Linked DNA regions of Homo sapiens: all the other regions are linked to region 1. Evidence: promoter capture Hi-C in human tissues and cell types (Jung and others, 2019). All regions are on one chromosome and are shown on one strand. The core of a region is centred on a gene start or on the middle of the fragment in contact, and the rest is flanking DNA. Distances in the headings are between cores, read along the strand shown.

Evidence for each region. Contacts are between HindIII fragments. The study calls those that stand out against the background at their distance.
Region 2: a fragment that was not itself captured here is called in contact with the fragment with the promoter of KCNRG in region 1 in 1 of the 25 tissues and cell types used here (mesenchymal stem cells).
Region 3: a fragment that was not itself captured here is called in contact with the fragment with the promoter of KCNRG in region 1 in 4 of the 25 tissues and cell types used here (heart left ventricle, heart right ventricle, hippocampus and 1 more).

What each region holds. Positions count from the first base shown.
Region 1 is chr13:50,014,016-50,016,715 of GRCh38, reverse strand. KCNRG (potassium channel regulator) reads right to left here and starts at 1,272. Exons shown (of 2, transcript NM_173605.2): 1 at 645-1,272. The coding sequence starts at 1,222. It overlaps TRIM13 (tripartite motif containing 13), which reads right to left. Exons shown (of 2, transcript NM_213590.3): 2 at 1-2,700. All of the region lies in intron 10 of DLEU2 (deleted in lymphocytic leukemia 2), which reads left to right. The HindIII fragment of the contact is 16,932 bases long and covers 1-2,700 here.
Region 2 is chr13:50,614,410-50,617,194 of GRCh38, reverse strand. No RefSeq gene overlaps it. Among named protein-coding and RNA genes, the nearest start is that of DLEU1-AS1, 88 kb to the right of the region's middle. The HindIII fragment of the contact is 3,508 bases long and covers 1-2,785 here.
Region 3 is chr13:50,672,221-50,675,059 of GRCh38, reverse strand. No RefSeq gene overlaps it. Among named protein-coding and RNA genes, the nearest start is that of DLEU7-AS1, 130 kb to the left of the region's middle. The HindIII fragment of the contact is 4,162 bases long and covers 1-2,839 here.

The sequences.
Region 1 (2,700 bases), core at 23-2,522:
AAATCAGCGTTAGGATCCAGCCAAGAACAACAGAGGGAGTAAGTGAAGAATTGACTCAGGAGCAACTATCCTTAACATACTGACAGCCTATCCCAATATTTTGAGTTGTTTAAGAGCCAAGGCTGTAACAGGATACCAAATTTGCCATGAGATATATCTGTCTTTAAGGGTGTTTAAAAATAAAGTCAGCTGAAGGAAAAACAGTAGTTGAATCATAAAACTGAAAGAACAACTTATATAGTGTGTAAGGAACTCAAGAGAAACCAGTGAGCGAGCCTTTATGTGAACCACTGAAACAATCTCTTAAAAATAAGGCAATTCTTTTCTAAGTCAAATTCATTAGCAATGGAACATAATCTACAAAATTATTTTCTCCCATGATTTGAATGTCCATAGTCTCAGTTTTTTCTGGGCAGTCTTCATTTATTCCTTTTGTCCCACCTAATAATAGCCCCTTTCACTCTAAAAAGTATCCCAGTTTGGAAAATAATTATTTGGTCATTCTACCCAACTCCACTGGTTACCCCAAAACATTATTTTGAATAATCATCTTTTCCAGAAGTTACAGGCCTGAGGAACTTCAAGTTTTTAGAGAAAACATCACAAACTGGTATACAAGAGAAATACTGCAAAGTACAAAATACCTGACTCCAGTTTGGTTATCAGTAGTGCTGTCAGAACCACACTGGAAAACCAGGTCATGGTAAGAAGGTCTTTGTGGAGGCAGTGGAAGTAAGGTCATCTGAGGAGGGAAAAAGTTACCATTCCAGGTCGGCGCTGAAGGTTGTTCTGTAAACACTGTAATCCTCCCTGTTAGCATCTCAATTGTTTTGCTGCAAGAGCCAAACACCCTGAAAAAAGCTTGAGTGTTCCGGCTTAGGAAATGTACCTCCACAAGAGCAGGTCTTGGCTGTAGCAGGTATGGGTTTAAGAGATCAACTAGAGAACGAAGTTCATAGAAAAGAGCCTCTCTCTGAAGCCTAAGATAGTCTGAAAATTCAGTGGGTAATAAAAGCTGGTGAGTTCTCAAAAAATCTAAGATGAAACTAAACAAATCACCATCTCTGTCTACAAAAATCTGGCCACCAACCATCTTGAATTCTTGGTCTCTGCCATCTAACATGCGTGCCAAACGAGAAGCAGGAAACTGCTTTATCGTAGAAAACCTTGTCGTGAATATCTTCCCTCCCACATTCAAAGTGACCAGTTCCTGACTACTCATTCTTCCCTCACTTCAAACTAGAGGCTACCATCAGCCACACTTAGGAAATCAACCTATAACCATAAATGTTGCTAGTTATACATGATTATGCAGTGGAGGGGAGGGAAGAATAACAAAAACCAGACTTAGATTCCCAGGAAACTACTGTAAGGTAAATAGTGTATCCATGGCTGTGTTTGCAAATTCGAGTTGCCTGGGAACTTGCAGTATACAAAATGAAAAAGCAACAGATGAGGAACTAAATAGCTTAAGGAAAACTGCCAATATATCTGAAGATAGACATCAAATAGATCCCTTTCCTGTCTTACATTTAAAAACTTATCCATGAAAACCTAGTAAAACTATATATATATATATATATATATATATATATATATATATATATATATATATATATATTTTTTTTTTTTTTTTTTTTATTACTGGGAGGGGAAAAGCATTCTCCCTCCCCATACCTGTCTACCACGCAGAGGCTAGACTTAAACGTTTTTCTTAATTTCTTATGATCTCCTTAGAAATTTAGTGGCTAAATCATGAATTACATGTTAGGAATGAGACAGCCTGGCAAGCTCAATTTGACTATTCTCATAGCTAGAAGGAAATCATTTCTTCTGTGCTTTAAATTTAGTTGCCACCTTTTATCCTGTCCCCATTTTCATTACCTCCTCTCAACCAAATTAGAGGAGGACTGAGGTAAAGAACTCTTATTTTCAGAAAGTCTATTCCACTTAATGGGCTTTCAAGGAATATCTTACTCTATGACACAAATAAGGCAGACTAGAGAGCAGTTATAAGGTTACTTCTTTGTTATATGAATTCTAAGCAAGGTGTTTATTCCATGAGAGGGTATCTTTATCTCTTGTGAGCAGACAGAACAGCATTAGTGTTCAGCTGATTACTTTGTAATAGCTGACAGACTGTTTTATCTGTTGTCAAATTAGTCTTAACTACACTAAACATTCTTTCTGTAAGCAAGTGGATTGGTTTGGTTGTACACTTGCCATCTTTCGAACAAAACAACACATAGCTGCCAGAAAAAAGGTAGTCTTCCCATTTCCTGCTCTTGCCATGTGTTCTATATATACATATATATGTATATATATGTATGTGTACATATGTGTGTGTGTGTGTGTATATATATATATATATTTTTTTTTTTTTTTTTTTTTTTTTTTTTTTTGGTAGAGACTGGGTCTTGCTATGTTTACGAAGCTGGTTTCGAACTGGAACTCCTAGCCTCAAATAATCCTCCCACATCACTGTCCTAGAATGCTGAGATTATAGACATGAGCCACCCTGCCCAGCCAGCTGATCCTTTTTTTTAACCTATCTATGCTTTTGCTTGCATAGCCACTTAACATTTCTAGTTGATCATCTTTGGTGAAAACTACAAAAACAAAGGAGAAAAGGGCAGATTGAAAGCTCCACTCTCCTAAAAATGTAAACTTATCACAAGAAAATGCCAGGTTTTGTATGTA
Region 2 (2,785 bases), core at 49-2,548, 600 kb before region 1:
TACTTCCGGCAGGCTCCATGTTACCTGAGCTCTGCAGAGGCACGGATCTGCTTCCAGCCGCCTCCCTTAACCAAGTTTGACCCGACTGCACTTACCAGGAGCTGGGCTATTTTCAAGTTTGATGTATATTTTCATTTCTAATTTTCAAAAGGTATTTTAGTTGTTTTCAGCCAGTTTCACAGGGAAGAGTGAGGCCAGATGTCTTGACTCTGCCACTCGACTGAAGACCCTGATGTGGCCAAGAAATGCTTCTGGATCCATTTCTTCTAAAAGTGGATTTCATAAATAATGTGATCTAATGAGAGATGATCTCATGGAAACATGGGTCTTGGCTGAATGCAAATGGAGTTTTAGACAATAAAGTTTGAGAATCTTTGGTGTGGTCCAAAAAGTGCCATCTCCATAGCTGAGACAGTATCAGAGAGCCCTGAAACAGCAGCAGTCATCTGCTGGTGTGAGCTGGGATCTTCATCACACCTTCTTACTTCACCTCAAAACAAGCCAGGCGGCCACTTCAGAAAAAGTTCCTCACTGTTCAGTATCACTGAACAAAGGATGCCTCAGAAGAGTCAATGAGCCCCCAAACCTTTTAAAGTTTATAATTGTGTATGTGTTATTATAAGATTTTTGTTAAATTGAGTTGTAATTCTCTCTTGGCCTATTGTTCCTATAGTTTTTAAGATGAAAGAACTAAAGTGAACAACTGTTTCTTGTGCATTACTCTTTTAAAATATTCTTTTCAGAGATAATATTGAGAAGTGGTGGGAGAATATATTTTGAAAATAAAAGAGACTCAGGCTTTAGTCAACATGAAGAATTGCTGTGCTTGTTGCAAAGAGGCAATGACCTCATGCCGGGAGGATGCACAGCTAACTCTTACAGAGCACTTCCTATGTGTGCCTCACTCAGTCTCCTCAACAGTGCCTCCTAGAGAGGTTCTATTACATTATCCCCATTTTACAGATGAAGAAACTGAGTCACAGTAAGCTTAGGTAATTTGTCCAAAGTTGTAATAATAGCATGCCGAAGACTGGAACCCAGGCAGTGGAATCACAAAACTAAAGCCCACATAAAACAAGCAAAGAGCATTCAAGTACTAAATAGAATGGCACTAAATTTAAGTCTAGTTTTCCCCCACTCATTTTTAGAAACTCCTCTCTTGAAGATTACTCCATAATCTTCTAGTCACTAAATACACAGGCATTTCTAAGATCTTATTTTCTTCTGTCTCTCTGAAGCTTTTGTTACTCTTGAACAAAACTTTCTTTATGAGGTGAAAGGCATCACTGCAGCAGAGAAACTTGCACTTGACCCTAGAGTAGTCAATAGGGAGCTATTGAAGATCCTTGAGCAAGGGAGCAATGGGCTTAAAGTGGTCCCTTAGGAGGATCAGCATGGCAGGGTGATTCAGGAGAGTCCGACTGGACTGGGTGAGCTGGAGAGCTTCTCTAGGTAAGATCAGCCAACAGCTGCTACAGGAAATGGCATGGATTCATGACTGAACTCTAAGAAATATTCATGCTAAGAAATATTCATGTTAATCATACTTGATTAACAGAAGTAACATTAAAATACTCAGAATGATTTTTTAAAATGTCCTTATGAAACTTATTTTCTTAGAGTTCAAGGCTACCATGGAGAACATGGTATGGTCAATTACTCAGTGTTTCCTTTGTCAGGATCCACGGGAAAATATCTCTCAGGTTGTGCTGCTCCTGAGCAGTTTTATGGTGTGTTATCAACTCTGAGTCCCACAGGTGCACATGGGCCCTCTTTGTAGTTCCTGCTAGGAAGCTCAGAAGGAAATGCATGACTTCTAGGGAAAAGGGACATGCAATTTTATAGCTGGCCTTTGTGTCCTCACCACAATCTTGGCTCCATCTGTGTTTTCTTCTTGTACTCACCTTTTGCCATATTTTCTCATTTACTTTGGAATTAACTCGTTTTACCATGCCATATGTATTTTTTTAAAGACAGGGTCTCCCTCTGTCACCCGGGCTGGAGTGCAGTGGTGTGATCATAGCTCACGGCAGTCTTGAGCTCTTAGGCTCAAGCAATCCTCCTGCCTCCATCTCCCAAGTAGCTAGGACTACAAGCAGGCACCATCACATCTAGCTAATTTATTAGGTTTTCAGTAGAGATGAGGTTTCACTACGTCGCTCAGGCTGGTCTCAAACTCCTGAGCTCAAGCGATCTTCCTGCCTCAGCCTCCCAAAGTGCTGGGATTATAGGCATGAGCCACTGCACCCAGCTCCCATATGTATCTTTGAAAGATACGGTAAATATTTGTAGAAGACAGAAGGGAGAGAGAGAAAGGAGAAGAGAAATGAAACTTTAAAACAAGAAACATGATTCAAGCAAACCAACTCTAAGAAGACGTGTATTTATTTATTTGTTTGTTTCAGAGACAGGGTCTTGCGCTGTTGCCCAGGCTGGAATGCAGTGGTGCCATTAGCTCACTGCAGCCTCAAACTCCTGGGCTCAAGGAATCTCCTCCCTCAGTCCCCTGAGTAGCTCCCTGATGGCACTACAGGCATGTGCCACCACACCTGGCTGATTTTCCTTTTTTTTTTTAGAGATAGGATCTCACTATGTTGCCCAGGCTGGCCTCTAACTCCGGGCCTCAAACAAGCTTCATGCCTCAGGCTTCCCAAAGCACTGGGATTATAGACAGGAGCCACCATACCCAGCCAAAGAAGATATTTTTTAAGACAATTGAGAAAACTGGAAAATGAGTATTATAATTGATTATAGTAAGGAATTGTTATTAATTTTCTAGGTGGGA
Region 3 (2,839 bases), core at 147-2,646, 660 kb before region 1:
TCTTGCCTTGTTGAGAACCACTGGTTCAGAGGGTACAGTGAGCCAAGTCTAAACTCAGGTGTCTCTCCTGTATGTCAAGGCATGCAATAAAAGCATCATTGTCACCACAGCTAGAATAATTTGCAGTGGGACCTCCAAAACACCTGGAAGCAAAGAAGTGAAGGCTGCTGGGACTGTCTCTTAGGACAACGTGAGCCTTTTCTGGACATTTTCATGATCCTCTGGGTCACCTTCATTCCTACACTGGGAACATGGCTGCCAAAGTGTTGTAGGTGTCCGATTCCACAGCTCTTCTGCCAGAGCAGGACTCAGGTTTTCTCTCCAGCAACGGTTACATCTAAGGCTTCCCCAAACTCATTCCCTTGACTTGGGGTCTCATAAGCTCCTCCTTATCCCAAGCAGAGAAGCATGAGCTGAAGTTGAAGGGTGACAGAGACTTATGCTCTATGACACATACTGGGAACCACCTGCCCTGTGTCCATTCCTCACTAACAAAATTCAGTTTTTGTTTAGTGTTATAGCAAGGGGTAGCCATGCCAAAAGGTTCTGATTAATGAGATATAAGTTGAGAGTTTCTGGGAAAGCTTTTGCTTTCCTAATACAAATGCTGCCATTTCCTATTTTGCATTCCATTTCTTCCCTCTGCTTTGGAAAGATCATGTGTTGTCTGGTGGGGCAGCAGCCATTTTGCAGTCATGAGGCAAAAACTTACTTAAGTATGATGAAATGAAAAAACTGAAACAAAAAAAAAAAAACTGGGCCTCTGATGGCATCGTTGTAGAGCCCTAGACTGCCTAATCTGAAACTTCTAGTTGTGTTAAATTTCTATTCTCTGTTTAAACTACTGTAGTCAAGGGCCCGTGGTGGCTCATGCCTGTAATCCCAGCAGTTTGGGAGGTCGAGGCTGGAGGATTGCTTGAGGCCAGGATTTGAAATCAGTATGGGTAACACAGTGAGACTACATCTCTACATAAAAGTTAGCCAGGTGTGGTGGTGCATGCCTGTAGCCCCAGCAACTTTGGAGGCTGAGGTGGGGGCAGGAATCACAGGAGCCTCAGGAATCAAGGCTGCAATGAGCTATGATTGCACTCTAGCTTAGGTAACAGAGTGAGATACTGTCTCCAAAAAAAGAAAAAAGAAAAACTGTGGTCAGGGTTTTTATTTTTGTTTAGTCATTTCAATCATTCATCTGTTAAAAATTGTTTATTAAGTACTTACTTTGTGTTAGGCACTGTCCTGGACAAAATGTAAGCTTCCTACTCTCATAGAGCTTATATTTTTATAGGGAAGAAAAATAAAACAATAAGTCAAATATATAGCATATCAGATAATCCTAAATGCTAATAACAAATGAAGCAGAAAACAGTTATAGAAAGAATATGTGGAAGAGCGAGAGTGGAGAGCAGGTTACTATTTTAGGCCATGTGGTCAAGAAAGGCTTCACTGAGAAAGTAACATTTGAATCCAGACCGAAAGGAGATGATGAGGGAGCCAGCCTTGCAGGTGTCTGGGGGAAGAACATTCCAAGAAAGAGAACAGCAACTGCAAAGGCCCCGAGGCAACAGGTTACCTTGTACGTTTAAGGAACAGTGAAGAGGCCAGAAAAGAGTTAAGAGAGGCCAGGGGTAGGGGAGGGGATTAAGGCGAGGCACAGAAAAAACAAGGGGCCGCAGTGTGGAGAATCTTGCAGATCATCGTAAGGATTTTTGCTTCTAAAGTGGGGAAGCTCTTGGAGAGTTTGAACAGAGGACTGACTTGATCTGATACACACTTCAGCAGGATCGCTCTCGGTACCCTGTTGAGAATAAACTCAAGAGGAATGGGAAGGTTGGGGGCAGAGTAAGGAGATCCATTTTGAGGCTATTGAACCAATCCATGGAGAAAGGATGGCAGCTTGGATGGAGTGGGGCAGTGAAGTGGAGAGGAGTAGTGGGATTCTCAGTTTGACATCAACGTAAAGCCCAAGACTGTGCTGATGAAGCAAACGTGAAGGGTGTGACAGAAGAGCCCAGGAGGGCTCCCGAGGCCTTCACTGGAGCTATCGGAAGAGGGAACTGCCATTGACTGAATCAGAGAGAACTAGGAGAGGAGCAGGCTTGAAGGGATTGGGCACTCAGCGCCGTCCTAACTGGGTGTGCACAGACACATGATGAGTCTACAGGATGTGTCTTGGTCTCCCTGGACCCGAGTGTCTTCTCTGCCTCCTTCCCAGTGCAACCTCCTCTTCCCTGTTCCTGTCTCTGGTGTTGATCAGCAAGCCTGGAACTCCTGAAAGTGCTGAAATCAATACTCTGTTCTGTCCCTTATGTTTAACTTAATAAGGCCAGAAAATGGGCCAAATGAATATTTTAGAAATGTTTTGAATTAAAAGAGTGGGAAAGCTTCTGTTTGTTCAAGATTTCCCAATGAGCTCATGTTTCATAAATTTTAAAAAATCAGTACAAGGACTCCTTGGTTTTTCATGGGAAAGAGCTGGCCCCTGAGGAGTGGTCAGCCACAAGCTGGGCGTTGATGATGACCCTTTCATGTGCACTGCCCTTCACAGCTATTAAGCATCCTGTTGTGCTTTCATTTGTCACTATTTGATTTTCAACTAAATCTCATAAAGTTCCTCTCATTTGTGAATAAGGAAACTGAGGCTTGAAATGTTCAGGCCACTTACAGTCTATCTGATTAGAAATCAACAGGGGCAGAATTTTAATTCTAATATTTGGACTCCAAATGTGCTTCCTTATTTTCTATTATATGCTCTACCCCATGCAACATGAATTAGCTTGGATTTATGAAGCAGCAATGAGACCTTAAGAGGGAACATTATGCAACTCTTTGTGTGTGTGTG